Linked DNA regions of Homo sapiens: regions 1, 2, 3 and 5 are each linked to region 4. Evidence: promoter capture Hi-C in human tissues and cell types (Jung and others, 2019). All regions are on one chromosome and are shown on one strand. The core of a region is centred on a gene start or on the middle of the fragment in contact, and the rest is flanking DNA. Distances in the headings are between cores, read along the strand shown. Region 1 overlaps FHOD3 (formin homology 2 domain containing 3). Region 2 has its middle 74 kb from the start of MIR187. Region 3 overlaps LOC105372064 (a long non-coding RNA gene). Region 4 holds the start of MOCOS (molybdenum cofactor sulfurase). Region 5 has its middle 31 kb from the start of MIR187.

Region 1 (2,700 bases), core at 158-2,657, 380 kb before region 4:
CTTCACTTCATTTTCTTTTACAGAAGCAGTATAAAGAAAATACTTTTCTGTTGCCATTCAATAAGATATTTTGCCATTTGAGAATGTGACTGGAAATAATTCCTATTTATTTCTACCAAAAGTACAGAAAAAAAAATAAATGAATGGTATGAAACATTAAAGAAACTTACCACAGGGCAACATTCTGCTATAAGCAAGTATCAGTGGTAACTAGGTTTTATTTTGTTTTGGGAGGAATGATCTGTGATTTGCACATTGGGAATGAAGATGGGGATACTGTAGGGTACAATCAGTTCTTCCATGAGCCCATCACTAAGCACCAAGATAGGCACTGCTTTCTTCAATTAGAACACAGGAGCTCTGAAAATGTGCAGTGAGTTTTTAAATCAAAGTAATCTCCAGAGAGAAAAACAAAACAAAACTATTAGTATCACTCACCCCTTATCTTCTGGGAAGGGCTAATTCATCTTAAAGAAGGGATTTCAATTAATTTTAATCAGACCATTAAAATTCATTCTTCTTAACTCTGAACTGGATTTGTCTACCCCTAATTTCCATTATTCACCAGAGCCCGCAGTAAGTATTAAAAAGAGGTTGATATTGTTGACATTCTTGGAACTAAATGAAGACCTTGGAGTCTAGTTATTATTCTTTTCCACTTAATTGTCTGCCCTAAATAACAAGCTCCGGTCCAGTTTTCCCCAAGGGCAACTGTCAAAGAAATACTCTTTCAATACCTATTACAGCATGAAAATTAAGGAGAATAAGCTGCCAATTCTAGGCTGGAGACAAGAATTTAATCAGCACAAAGAGCTCCAACAAGGTGTCAAAGTTTTGAGTCCCTTGCTGACATTTAGCAGCATTTGCAATGCAAATTTTTCTAAAGCAGTCTTAAATTACTACCCTCTCTCTACCTTAGAATGACCATTTTCTAAAAAAGGTCCCCCAAAAAAGTTGTTAAAAAAATCAGACCTAATATTCTCCCCTAACACTTACAAGCTTAACTCTTAGTAACTCTCAAAGGAGGGAGGGCCCGTCTCCCCTCCCTCCTCCCCAGGCCTTCCAAACAGAAACACTGACACTGATGTGCTTCTTTCTGATAGACCTTTCTTCCCAGCAGGACATTATGTAGCTAAGCTCTCTGCATCTTCTCCCATCTAATACACACAGAAGACTGGTTTGTTTCTGGCCTATTCATTCATCTTCCCAACAGCAGCAAAGTTTATATCCAAGATTCCCATGCTAAAGATTTAAAAGGAGCCCTCATCAGCCACCTGTACAGAAACAGGTGCTTCATTACTGCTGGGCTGTAGCAGCCTCAGTTACACCTATGCTCCTCACCCTCTCCCAGTCTTTCCCGTTCTACAGTCCCCCATATTTTAGATAAGGAGACACCAAAGGAATGAAGGAAAGTATAACAGATTAGCAAGTTTTGAACCTCTAAAAATTTTTGGCAGACTTCTAGGTTCTCTATGGAAAGTAAAACAGTCATTTTAATGATCTATTCTATAATGATCTTCTAAGACTTACATCCAATGAAATACCAGTGGAAGCACACAGCCTCTCCAAAACAGGTCACAGCCACAGGTGGAATGAACCAGAAATGGACTCTGCAGCAGGGTCAGCAGTGGCTGGACTGTCTCATTCGCGCTCATGTGTTCACCTGGGGTGTCACCTGGGGTGACACCGAGTCAGTGACAAGGGCTTGGCCAATGAACCCGGGAAAAGCAGCTCCTCCTAGCTTAGTGACGGCCCATGCAGGACACATACACTTAGGGCATCTGTCCCTGACTGACATCCCTGCTTACCAGGTGACAGAGACAATGAACACAAGGTGTAGAGACGAGTAATTAAGCCCAAGCAGAGTGGAATGGAGCTCATAAACACCCAGATTCAGAGAAGGGTGCAGCTGATATGAGCCTGAGTAATTAGAGGAGGATTCATGGAGAGGCTGACAAGAAACATACCTTAAAGGATGGGGCACATGTAGCTGGGAGAAGACACATGAGTTTCCAGGGCATGAGAAAAGAAAAGATACCAGAATAGTTCCCCTGATTTTTGCTTCTAAGACAGTACCGCATCAAGAAAACTCACGGGACTTAAACCCACGGAGAAGCTGGTTTGCATGTAATCTCCACCATTTCTTACTTCCAAAAACTATGGAGCTTACGCAGTCATAAGATGGAAGACAAGTCCAACCTGGATCCTGTATGGTTAGGATGAAATATGCTGATGTATTAGCACAGCACGTGGCTGATGGTTGGCTGTTCTTGATGCTGTTATGCTAATTAACCTCTCTGGACTTCAATGGTATCATCTGAGAGACACAAGGGTTTAACCCAAAGACCTCCAAAACTCCCAGTTCCAAGGTAACATTACTCGAAAGCCCCTGCGGGGGTGTATTATGAAGTGTCTGGCACTAGGGAGCAAGCTTTCACTAGGTATTTCTATCTGCAGTCTGAGGTTTCAGACATGATTCCACAAATGTGCCTTATTAATATACAACCCTTCAAAAATCAGTCCTCTGTAAAAATCAGAAATAGGTTTTTGGATGTTATGTAAAACAATTAAGAGTACATGCTAGTATATTAATTCTGTACTTCTCTCTATTTAGGATTTCAACACTTTTAGAATTTTAACTTTAAAAACCCTCAATTTACTCAACTTCCTTACTAAAATTTCACCAACCATGAAGACTCT
Region 2 (2,700 bases), core at 83-2,582, 360 kb after region 4:
GTCATATTTTGAAATGGCCCTGAAAAGCTATCTTTTGTAGGGGGAAACTTGCATCTGTAAAGAATCTATATTAACACAACTAGATCTTTCCTATTCTAGGCTCTCCCAGTCCTGAAGAGATTAACTGAGCATCTAGCACCTTTTAAAGGTCTGAATAGGAAAAACGTGCCATCTATTATCTCTAAGGCACTCCCTTAGAGACATCTATGAGACACCCATGAAACTTTATCTACATAATAAGAACCTTGATCTCTGCAACTCCTTATCTTAACCCAGACACCCCTTTCCATTGATTCTAAGTCTTTAGATAATAACTTAATTCTCTTAAGCAATTGCTAATGAGAAAATCCTTGAATCCACCTATGACCTGAAAGCCCCCTGCTTCAAGTTGTCCCACCTTTCTGCACAAAATCAATATATACTTCACATGTACTGACTGATGTCTTATGTCTTCCTAAAATGTATAAAGCCAAACTAAAACCCAGCCACCTTAGGCACATGTTCTTCTAACCATACAATGGATTCACCTTGCCTGCTGCCTGGACAATGGAGAAAGAGTAATTCATGCAGAGCTGGCTGTGCAGGAGACCAAAGTTATATTACTACTCAAATCAGTCTCCCCAAGCATTTGAGGATTGCAGTTTTTAAAGATAATTTGGTGGGAAGCAGCTTGGGAAGTAGGGAGTGCTGATTGGGTAGGTTGGAGATGGAATCATAGGGGGGTCTAAGTGACATTTTCTTTCCGTCTTCTGTTCCTGGGTGGGATCACAGAACTGACTGATTCAGATTACTGGTCTGGGTGGTGTCAGCTAATCCATCAAATTCAGGGTCTGCAGATCAAACACTGATCTTAGGTTTTGCAATAGTAATGTTATCCCCAGGAGCAATTTGGGGAGCTTCAGACTCTTGCAGCAAGAGGCTGCATAACCCCTAAACTGTAATTTATTTCCTTCCTTCCTTCCTTCTTTTGTTCTCTTTCTCTTTCTCTCTCTCTCTCTTTCTCTTTTTCTCTCTCTCTCTCTCCCTTTCTCTCCCTCCTTCTTTCTCTCTCTCTCTCTCTCTGTCTCCCTTTCTCCCTTTCTCTCTCTCTCTCTCTTTCCTTTCTTTTTCTTTTTTGAGACTGAGTCTTGCTCTGTCACCCAGGCTGGAATGCAGTGGTGCAATCTTGGCTCACTGTACCCTCTGCCTCCCAGGTTCAAGCAATTCTCCTGCCTCAGCCTCCTGATAGCTGGGGACTACAGGTGCATACCACCATGTCCAGCTAACTTTTTTTTTTTTTGGTAGAGTCAGGGTTTCACCATGTTGGCCAGGCTGACCTCAAACTCCTGACCTGAAGTGATCCTCCCACCTCAGCCTCACAAAGTGCTGGGATTACAGGCATGAGCCACTGCGCCTGGCAGTACTTTCTAATCTTGTAGCTAATTTGCTGGTCCTGCAAAGGCAGACTGGTCCCCAGGTAAGAAGGGGGTCTTTTCAGGAAAGGGCTATTAACAATTTTTTTTTTTCAGAGTCAAACCGTAAACTAAATTCTTTCCCAAGCTTAGTTTGGCCTATGCCCAGGAATAAACAAGGACAGCTTAAAAGTTAGAAGCAAGATGGAGTTGGTTAGGTCTGATGTCTTTCATTGTCATAATTTCCTCAGTTACAGTTTTTGCAAGGGTGGTTTCAATCTCAGGACCTCTTGAGACTGTGTCTTGGGCCTTAGGCACTCATACTTGGCTCAGAATAAACCTCTTTAAACATTTTACAAAGTTTGACTCTTTCTGTCAACACCAGTTACACTTCTCATTTTCCATTAAAAACCTTTGTCTTCCTTTACTTACCTGAATACACAGTTTACTATGGCACATATAGTTGCATTGCAATGCTATATTCCTGAATAAGTATCATTTGCTTTTAGAGAGTCTCTCTCTGTTATTTAGGTTGACACAATAATATGTCAAACCAGGTTTCTCTAGATAACAACTGCCCCCTAGCCATGTTAAGCAATGCTCCCCTGTGAGTTTAAAGGGGCACACAGTAATCTTTTGCTTTAGTTTTGGGACCTCACACTTTTGGAATGAAACTGTCATTGCAAAATTATAACTGAGAAAATTATTACAGTGAAAAAGATCTGACCTAATCAACTCCATCTTGCTTCTAAACTCTAAGCTGTCCTTGTTCATTCCTGGGCACAGGCTGAACTAACTTTGGGAGAATCAGTTTATAGTTTAACTTTGAAACAAAGATGATAATAGCCCTTTGACAAAACAAACCCCTTCCTGCCTGGGGACTAGACTGCCTTTGTAGGACTAACAAATTAGCCACAAGATTAGAAATTACGATTTAGGAGTCATGCAGCTGGAGGCTATAATATTCTGACCCACCCCAAATTGCTTCTGAGGATAATATCACTCTTATAAAACCTAAGATCAGTCCTTGAGATATTTTGCAGCCCCTGCACTGGATGAATCAGCTGGCACCATCCAGACCAATAAACTGGTTCATCTGGTCTTGTGGCCCCCACCCAGGAACTGACTCGGTGCAAGAGGACAGCTTCTGCTCTCTATGATTTCATCTCTGACCCAACCAATCAGCACTCCCAACTCAATGGCCTCCCACCTACCAAATTATGCTTAAAAACTCTGATCCCTGAATGCTTAGGGAGACTGATTTGGGTAATAATAAAACTCCAGTCTCTCATACAGCCCACTCTGTGTG
Region 3 (2,700 bases), core at 59-2,558, 460 kb after region 4:
TTCCTGTAGTCAATTTTTCAGTTCCTGGAGTTCAGTTTTGGTTCTTTCTTAAAAAGGTTATACCATCTTTCAACTCTTGTATTATTTTACTGTTCTCCTTGGATTGGGTTTCAACTTTCTCCTGTTTTTTTCTTTTTTATTTCTTTTTTTTTTTTTAGCTTCAACTTTCTCTCTTTTTTTTTTTTTAGCTTCCTTGCTATCTAGATTCTGAATTCTATGTCTGTCATTTCAGCCATTTCAATCTGGTTAACAGCCACTTCTGGGGAGCTTGTGCAATTGTTTGGAGGTAAGAAAACACTCTGGCTTTTAGAATTGCCGGAGTCCTTGTGCTAGTTCCCTCTCATCTGTGAGGGCTGGTGTTCCTTTATCTTTTGAAGTTGCTGTGATTTGGATGGGGCTTTTTATGGTCTTTATTTACCTTGAGGGTTTGACTGTAGTGTAAGTTGAGTATAGTTGATTGGCTTTGTTTCTGGATGCTTTTAGAGGGCCAAGGCTCTTCACAGGATTTTTATTTGTTGCTAGAACACTGCACTGGGTTTCACAGGCAATGAAAGCAGGAAGTATTTTTTGGTGGTGTAATTCAGGCTGCAATCAGTAGATTATGCTTAAGAGTAAGGGCTTGTACATCCCCAGGAAGCTACCAATGACTTTCTTCACAGAATTGGAAAAAAAAACTACTTTAAAGTTCATATGGAACCAAAAAAAGGCCACATTGCCAAGACAATCCTAAGCAAAAAGAACAAAGCTGGAGGCATCACGTTACCTGACTTCAAACTATACTACAAGGCTACAGTAACCAAAACAGCATGGTACTGGTACCAAAACAGAGATATAGACCAATGGAACAGAACAGAGCCCTCAGAAATAATACCATACATCTACAACCATCTGATCTTTGACAAACCTGACAAAAACAAGAAATGGGGAAATGATTCCCTATTTAATAAATGGTGCTGGGAAAACTGGCTAGCCATATGTAGAAAGCTGAAACTGGATCCCTTCTTTACACCTTATACAAAAGTTAATTCAAGAAGGATTAAATACTTAAATGTTAGACCTAAAACCATAAAAACCCTAGAAGAAAACCTAGGCAATACCATTCAGGACATAGGCATGGGCAAGGACTTCATGTCTAAAACACCAAAAGCAATGGTAACAAAAGCCAAAATAGACAAATGGGATCTAATTAAACTAAAGAGCTTCTGCACAGCAAAAGAAACTACCATCAGAGTGAACAGGCAACCTACAGAATGGGAGAAAATTTTTGCAATCTACCCATCTGACAAAGGGCTAATATCCAGAATCTACAAAGAACTTATACAAATTTACAAGAAAAAATCAACCCCATCAAAAAGTGGGTGAAGTATACGAACAGACACTTCTCAAAAGAAGACATTTATGCAGCCAACAGACACACACAAAAAAGGTCATCATCACTGGCCATCACAGAAATGCAAATCAAAACCACAATGAGATACCATCTCACACCAGTTAGAATGGTGATCATTAAAAGTCAGGAAACAATAGGTGCTGGGGAGGATGTGGAGAAATAGGAAGACTTTTACACTGTTGGTGGGACTGTAAACTAGTTCTATCATTGTGGAAGACAGTGTAGCGATTCCTCAAGGATCTAGAACTAGAAATACCATTTGACCCAGCGATCCCATTACTGGGTATATACCTAAAGGATCATAAATCATGCTGCTATAAAGACACATGCACACGTATGTTTATTGTGGCACTATTCACAATAGCAAAGACTTGGAACCAACCCAAATGTCGATCAATGATAGACTGGATTAAGAAAACGTGGCACATATACACCATGGAATAATATGCAGCCATAAAAAAGGATGAGTTCATGTCCTTTGTAGGGACATGGATGAAGCTAGAAACCATCATTCTGAGCAAACTATCGCAAGGACAGAAAATCAAACACTGAGTGTTCTCATTCATAGGTGGGAATTGAACAATGAGAACACTTGGACCCAGGGTGGGGAACATCACACACCGGGGCCTGTCGTGGGGTGGGGGGAAGAGGGGATAGCATTAGGAGAAATGCCTAATGTAAATGACGAGTTGATGGGTGCAGCACAACAACATGGCACGTGTATACATATGTAACAAACCTGCACGTTGTGCACATGTACCCTGGAACTTAAAAGGTATAATAATAAGAAGAAGAACAAAAACAGTAAGGGCTTGTAGATAGACTCTAGCTGAGCCATGTGCCTCTCAGTGTATTTCAATGCATTGGCAGCAGTGCTCTGTCGTGGGGCAGACAGGGTTGGGAGAGAGATGATCCCCTCACCAAGTCCATTCCTGGGTCTTAAAGGAGCCCCCTCCAATCACTGGTGCCGTGCCTGCCTTTCCTTAGCCTCAAAGGCGGCTCTGGTGAGCTGTGCTCCTCCCTCCCTTTGAGGTGGTCCAAGCCAAAGATTAGGTCACCAGGAGACCCACAGCTCTCTGGAGGCCCACCAAGGTCCTCTGTGCTTGGCAGAGTCAGAGCAGGTTGTGGGGTATATCTGTAGGTGGTCTGTTGATGCAGTAGGTCAAGGGCGGGGCATCTGTGGGCAGGGCAGTGTTGTTGTGGGTATGCAGCTGGTGGGGTGCCCATGCCTTGGGTTTTTTGCCAGCAGTCAGCTGTGGGACCTGCCCAGCTCCACCCTCAATAGGGTCTCCTGATGAGCGTCCCAGAAT
Region 4 (2,700 bases), core at 154-2,653:
GGAGCTGTCTCCAGCAGGTGACCCTGCGAGAGGGAAGGATGAGGAGTGAATAGAGAGGTTGGCAGAAGGCACCCCCGTCTCCCTCCTGACTCTCCCTACTTAGGAAGCCAGAGGAGACACACAGGAGGAGGCCACAGTTCTCACAGCCCCCAAAGGGAAAACACAGTTACCCTCCACAACACCAGGAAGTGACCCGAAGCGCTGAAATCAGCTACCCGAGTAGTGAAACCTAAGTCATGGTTGCTGTTCTGCCCCCAGAAGGGGAGCAGTCACCAGTTGTTCATCGCGACAGAGCAGATACACTCAAACCCCGGTGCCCTGTGCCAAGACGTGCCCACTTCACCTGCACACCCTCCTTGACCATCCGGCACGCGGCCCTGGGGCTTGATGAAGCCCTGCACCCAAAGTCCCTGGCAGAGGGATGAGTCACGAACTTGGGCCCTGGCAGCAGAGGGCTGGGTCGGCCAAGGCCAGATGGAGCTTGATTTGCAATTTCATCAGCCTGTTCCGCTCTGAGGAAAGGCACGATGTGATCTTGGTGTTGTCTAATTCACAGGCTCGCCCTGTTCTTAAAGGTGAAATTGCACTGTTTGCTAATTCTTCTAGTCCCCCAGAGAACTGGAGCTCAGAGGGATTGTTCTGACGCTGTAAGAGTAAGGAAAATGAGGTTTCGAAAATCAAAGCTGAATACAGGCTATCCCAGAGGAGTCTGCAGAGCGCAGCCTCGGGAGGCCCCGGCCAAGAGGCCTTGGCCTCCCGGTCCCAACCTGGCGCGCCGTCAGAGGTGCTGTCCCAGCCCGGGCGCTGGCGGTCCACGCACCGCTCCTACCTCGGGAGGACATCCGAAGGGTCACGGCCGCTGGACATGCTGTCTTTTGCAACCCCGGCCCCAGCAGGCCCTTTACAGTGAGGGGTCTCCCGCAAGAGAGGGCAAGAACCATCCTAAGCCCCGCTCGCGGAGGGCGGGAAAAGGGGAAGACGGCTAGGTTGGTCCTGCCCACCGGAAAGTCGGAAGAGTAAGAGTAGCAAGAAGCCTTGGGGCTGCAGGTGGGACCTCAGGGAGCCGTGTCTACTAGGAGGACGCGTGGACACGTCCCTCCTGGAGTTTCGATTCAAAATGCGCCCGAATGAGGTAGCGCCGCTCTCACTAGGAGCAAAAGATCCGTCCACGTCGGTTCCAGAAACCTCGTGTCCCCCAAGCCTGCCCGCCCGCCTCACCTGCCAGGCGGCTGAACTCGCGCGCCCGCAGCTCGCGCAGGCTGCCCGGGCCGTAGCCGTAGGCTAGCCGCGGTGCGCTCGGGTCCCGGGAACCCGCGAAGGTCCACAGCTCCCGCCCTGACTCCGCCGCCGCGCCGGCCATGGCCCCGGCTAGTCCATCCAGGCCGGCCGGGCCCGGGAAGTGCGCGAAGCCGGCCCCCGGCGACTCCGCCCCCGCCACGCCTCCCAGGCCTCCAGCCTCCCAGTCTCTCGGAATCCGCAGCCTAGGTGTGGCGCCCCGACCGGACTTTCACTTCTGGCCAGCCCTTTCCCCACCTGGGCGCGGGAGCGGGTGCCAGTCTTTAAACAACCTCTCGATGGGTCCCACGAAGATGTTTCCAGACCCTTGGAATGCCAAGTTCAAGTTTAGCTATGTCTCGCGGAGAGGCCGGTGGAAGAAGCAACGAGGTGATCTTTCCTGCTTGGCATCGGCATCCTGGAACCCCGCGACCCTCCTCCTCGCAGGGGTCTCGGGACCCTCACCCTCTCAAGCGGGAACCGGCGTCTGGCGGGGGCGGGGGTGGGGGCGTTCTCGGGTTGCTGCTACCCAGCGGGGCGTGTGCTTGCCGTTTGTTAGAATGCGGCTGACCAAAGGGTAGAAAAGGGGAAAGATTAGGGATCCACGAGGCTAATAAATTCTCAGTGGCTGCACACTTTCGGAACCGGGAAGCTCGGGGGCTTCCCCCGGAGCGGGCCCTGCAGCTGGGATCCAAGTGAGCTGAGCTTCCCCGCCCTCCCAACCGCGTCCTGGGCCCTACTTCCTGCCCTTGCCTCCCCAACCCTGCATCCCGCCCCGCACTTCCCGCACGTGGGTGTGGCCGGGCCCTCTCTATTAAAGCAAGAGTGCCCTAGGACAAAGCCGCCCCTGTCCCGGACAGAGTGGAATAAGAGCGCCTCCTTCAATCCCCACTCGCGCCTGCACCCAGAGCACCTGGGACACAGCGGCTCTGTCTTGGAGAACAGGTGCCTCAATAGGGAGGGCCTGGCCAAACCTATGCGCGGGAAGTGCGGAGCGGGATGCAGGGGTGGGGCGGCAGGTGCAGGTAGTAGAGCCCAGGCATGCGGTTGGGGGGTGGGGGGAAATCTCACGTGCGATCCCAGGTGCGGAACCCGCTGCTGGGAATGGGGTGGAAGCAAAACAGGTACTGCACGCACAGGCGAGGTGCCTCGTGGGGGAATCGAATGTCAGGGATGGTGGACAGTGCGGATGGGCGGCAGGTGCTGGGGCTCAGGGGAGATAACTCAGAGGCAGGCTCGGTGGAGAACCCAAGGCCGGCGACCAGGTGCAGGCGGCCCACAGGCCCTGGAGGCATACAGCGGGGGGACAAGGTGGGAAGGAGGCCTATGCCCCAAGAGCTCAACCTGTGCTGCATCCAGGCCAGCTGCCACCCAGGGTATGGGCCGCAGATGCCCTAGGATCCTTGCTGATGCATGATGCATACC
Region 5 (2,700 bases), core at 201-2,700, 310 kb after region 4:
AATGACCTCTAACCCTTTTCTAGCCTCTGGCTTTAGGGGATATTGTCTTTGGTTAGGAAAAGAAGTGGGATCCTTAAGACGGATCTGGACCTGTATAGTGGTTATAGCCTGGCTGATTTTCCCCTGGCTTGCCCACACCCCTGGGCTAATATTGGTTTCCACCACGAGAAGACAAAGAGTTTGTCTTAGGGTCGTAAGGATACTGGCTCCCATGAAAGCTAAAATATCTCTACCTAGTAAGGGAGTGGGACTTCCAGGCATGATTAAAAAGTCATGTGTAAATAGTAGGTTCCCCTAGCTACAACTAAAGGATTGAGAAAAATATTGGGTTAGAACCTTTCCTGAGATGCCCTTTATGGTCATGCTATGGGAAGAGGGGAGGCCTGGACTGGAGAGAACAGATAGACTGGCTCCAGCATCCAGAAGGAGGTCCACCCTCCTTCCTTCCATTTCTAGAATCACCTGGGACTCCTGGGCAGTAATGGCAGTTTGGGCCACTGGAGCCGGGAAATTGAGCCCCAGGACCTGTCAGGCTTGCCAGACCATTTGTGAGACCAGTTCTTGACCCAGTGACCTATGTCTCTGAGGGCAGTCTGACCTCCAGTAGTCCCCACTGGACAGGGTCGAGGTGGCTTATTCTTTCTGCCTAGACAGCCCTTCTTAAAGTTCCCTGATTTGGCACACCGATAGCAATTAGTGGGTGCACCTCATGGATCCTGGACTTTACAGGCCTGTAAAGTGGCTATCAGAGCCTCTGTCCTTCTCCTGTGCTTCCTCTCTTTATTCCTGGGCCTCCTCCTGATACCTATCGTAAAAGACCAAGGTGGCCACCCTCAGGAGGTTCTCCAGAGTACTATCTGGTCCTATAGCCTGTTTCTGTAATTTTCTTCTAATATCAGGTGCTGCCTGAGTAATAAACTTGTCCTTTAGGATTAGCTGTCCTTCAACTGAGTCAACAGACAGGGAATTCTGTTTTATTAAGGCCTCTCTCAGTCTTTCCGTAAAAGCTGAGGGATTCACATCTGGTCTCTAATCTATCATGGAGAGCTTAGAGTAATTAAAAGGTTTGGCCCTAGTTTTTTTGTAGGCCCTCCAATATGCATATTAAAAAGTGTTTCATTTTCAGTTCATCAGTGGGGGCACTAGGGTCCCAGCCAAGGTTTTCAAGTAGTATTGCCTCTCTCCCTATTGGGAATGGTTGTTCCATAATTTCCTCTCCTTCCTTATTTCCTCTTTTCCTTTTTGGCCTGCTGTAAGAAATATGTTGTGCATCCCCACATTTTTCTACTGTCTGCAGAGCTGCCTGCCTCTCAGCAGCTGTTAGGGTTTGGTTTAAGAGTAACATAACATCTCTCCATGTGAGGTCAAACACTTGGTCTAGATTTTGGAAAGCCTCTATATATCTGTTGGGGTCATCAGAGAATCTACCCAGGTCTACTTTTATTTGTCTAAGGTTCTGCAATGAGAAGGGAACCTGCACCCTTGTGGCACAATGTCCATCAGGCATTTCTTGCAGGGGTTAAAGTGAAGCTGGGGAAGTAGGGAGTTTTGGAAGTGGTGGAACTGGAGGAGCTGATGGCACAGTTGGAGGAGGGGGCCCCAGATAAGGGGGACAAGAGGGACTGAGACACTTAGTAGTTGTTTCAGAGGATTTTCCAGGAATTAGTTTTCTTAGCTTTGGGGAGTTATTCCCCATGGGTCTGCCTGATATGACTGCTAAAAGAACTGGGTCAATTGTGTATCACTTGCAGAGGTCTGAGTTGTCCTGCAGGGCAAAGAAAACCTGTACATAGGGGACCCCAGACCATTTGCCCTCTCGTCCACAGAAAAGATTAATTGTTGGATAGTATTAAAATAAAGACTTCCCTCAGAAAGCCAGGTTCGTCCATCCCCAAGCTGGTAAGAAGGCCACACCCTTGTGCAAAAGAATATGACCACTTTTTCTTCAGTCCCGGGGTCAAAGAGTTCCAGTGATTCAGAATGCACTCAAGAGGAGAGCAGGCTGAAGATGATTTGTTACCCACCTAGAAAGAAGGGGAGGGGAAGGAAAGGCATCCCTTAGTCTTCTCCCCTGTTTTGGAGTGACCCAGGTGGAGAGAAACACAGTGGGGGCATCCCCCCTACTAGTCTCCTTCCCCTGTGCAAGCCTCCTTGTCTTAGCATTTCCAAGAAGGGAGAGGATGTGCTTACTGGACCCACTGTATGTCCATATGTCACACAGGAGGCCCCTTTATGTATTAGAGCTTGCCTTCCTTATCTGTGTTTGCAGCCTGATTTCTCGGGCTTCTCTTTGCTGAAAGAGAAATGACCTCTTGGGCTGCTTTTTGTTAGAAGAGAAGCTGCTTTTTGTTAGAAGGGAACTCTACTGAGGACCCTTGCCCTAACTATCTGACTAGTTGATTTCTTTTTCTTTCCTCTCACAATATCATTTATGAATATCTATGCAAAAATATGAAATAAAATATCAAAAGGAACCTCACACCAAGTTAAGAATATAATACATCATGACAAAGTGGAATTTATTTTAGGAATAAATAACAAAGTTGGTTCGATGTTAGGCAAGGTTGGTTCAATGTTAGGAAATCCATAAATACACACACCAAATTAATAGTTATAATAATGGAAAATCATCTATGTTCTCCATGGATGCTGAAAAAGGTATTTGACAAGATTTCCAGTGAAAATCTGCAAGGAAATAAG

What was found. Contacts are between HindIII fragments. The study calls those that stand out against the background at their distance.
Region 1: a contact is called between a fragment that was not itself captured here and the fragment with the promoter of MOCOS in region 4, in 1 of the 25 tissues and cell types used here (aorta).
Region 2: a contact is called between a fragment that was not itself captured here and the fragment with the promoter of MOCOS in region 4, in 1 of the 25 tissues and cell types used here (mesendoderm cells).
Region 3: a fragment that was not itself captured here is called in contact with the fragment with the promoter of MOCOS in region 4 in 1 of the 25 tissues and cell types used here (heart right ventricle).
Region 5: a contact is called between a fragment that was not itself captured here and the fragment with the promoter of MOCOS in region 4, in 1 of the 25 tissues and cell types used here (spleen).

Annotation. Positions count from the first base shown.
Region 1 is chr18:36,563,070-36,565,769 of GRCh38, reverse strand. All of the region lies in intron 5 of FHOD3 (formin homology 2 domain containing 3), which reads right to left. Among named protein-coding and RNA genes, the nearest start is that of TPGS2, 260 kb to the left of the region's middle. The HindIII fragment of the contact is 5,121 bases long and covers 1-2,700 here.
Region 2 is chr18:35,829,200-35,831,899 of GRCh38, reverse strand. No RefSeq gene overlaps it. Among named protein-coding and RNA genes, the nearest start is that of MIR187, 74 kb to the left of the region's middle. The HindIII fragment of the contact is 5,187 bases long and covers 1-2,700 here.
Region 3 is chr18:35,722,014-35,724,713 of GRCh38, reverse strand. The region is part of intron 1 of LOC105372064 (a long non-coding RNA gene); the gene reads left to right. Among named protein-coding and RNA genes, the nearest start is that of MIR3975, 130 kb to the right of the region's middle. The HindIII fragment of the contact is 3,436 bases long and covers 1-2,700 here.
Region 4 is chr18:36,186,200-36,188,899 of GRCh38, reverse strand. It overlaps MOCOS (molybdenum cofactor sulfurase), which reads right to left and starts at 1,403. Exons shown (of 15, transcript NM_017947.4): 1 at 1,219-1,403. The coding sequence starts at 1,360. COSMOC (cell fate and sterol metabolism associated divergent transcript of MOCOS) reads left to right here and starts at 1,465. Exons shown (of 2, transcript NR_134605.1): 1 at 1,465-1,665. RefSeq lists silencers at 1,301-1,490, 1,336-1,599 and an enhancer at 2,359-2,700. The HindIII fragment of the contact is 25,317 bases long and covers 1-2,700 here.
Region 5 is chr18:35,872,240-35,874,939 of GRCh38, reverse strand. No RefSeq gene overlaps it. Among named protein-coding and RNA genes, the nearest start is that of MIR187, 31 kb to the left of the region's middle. The HindIII fragment of the contact is 4,153 bases long and covers 1-2,700 here.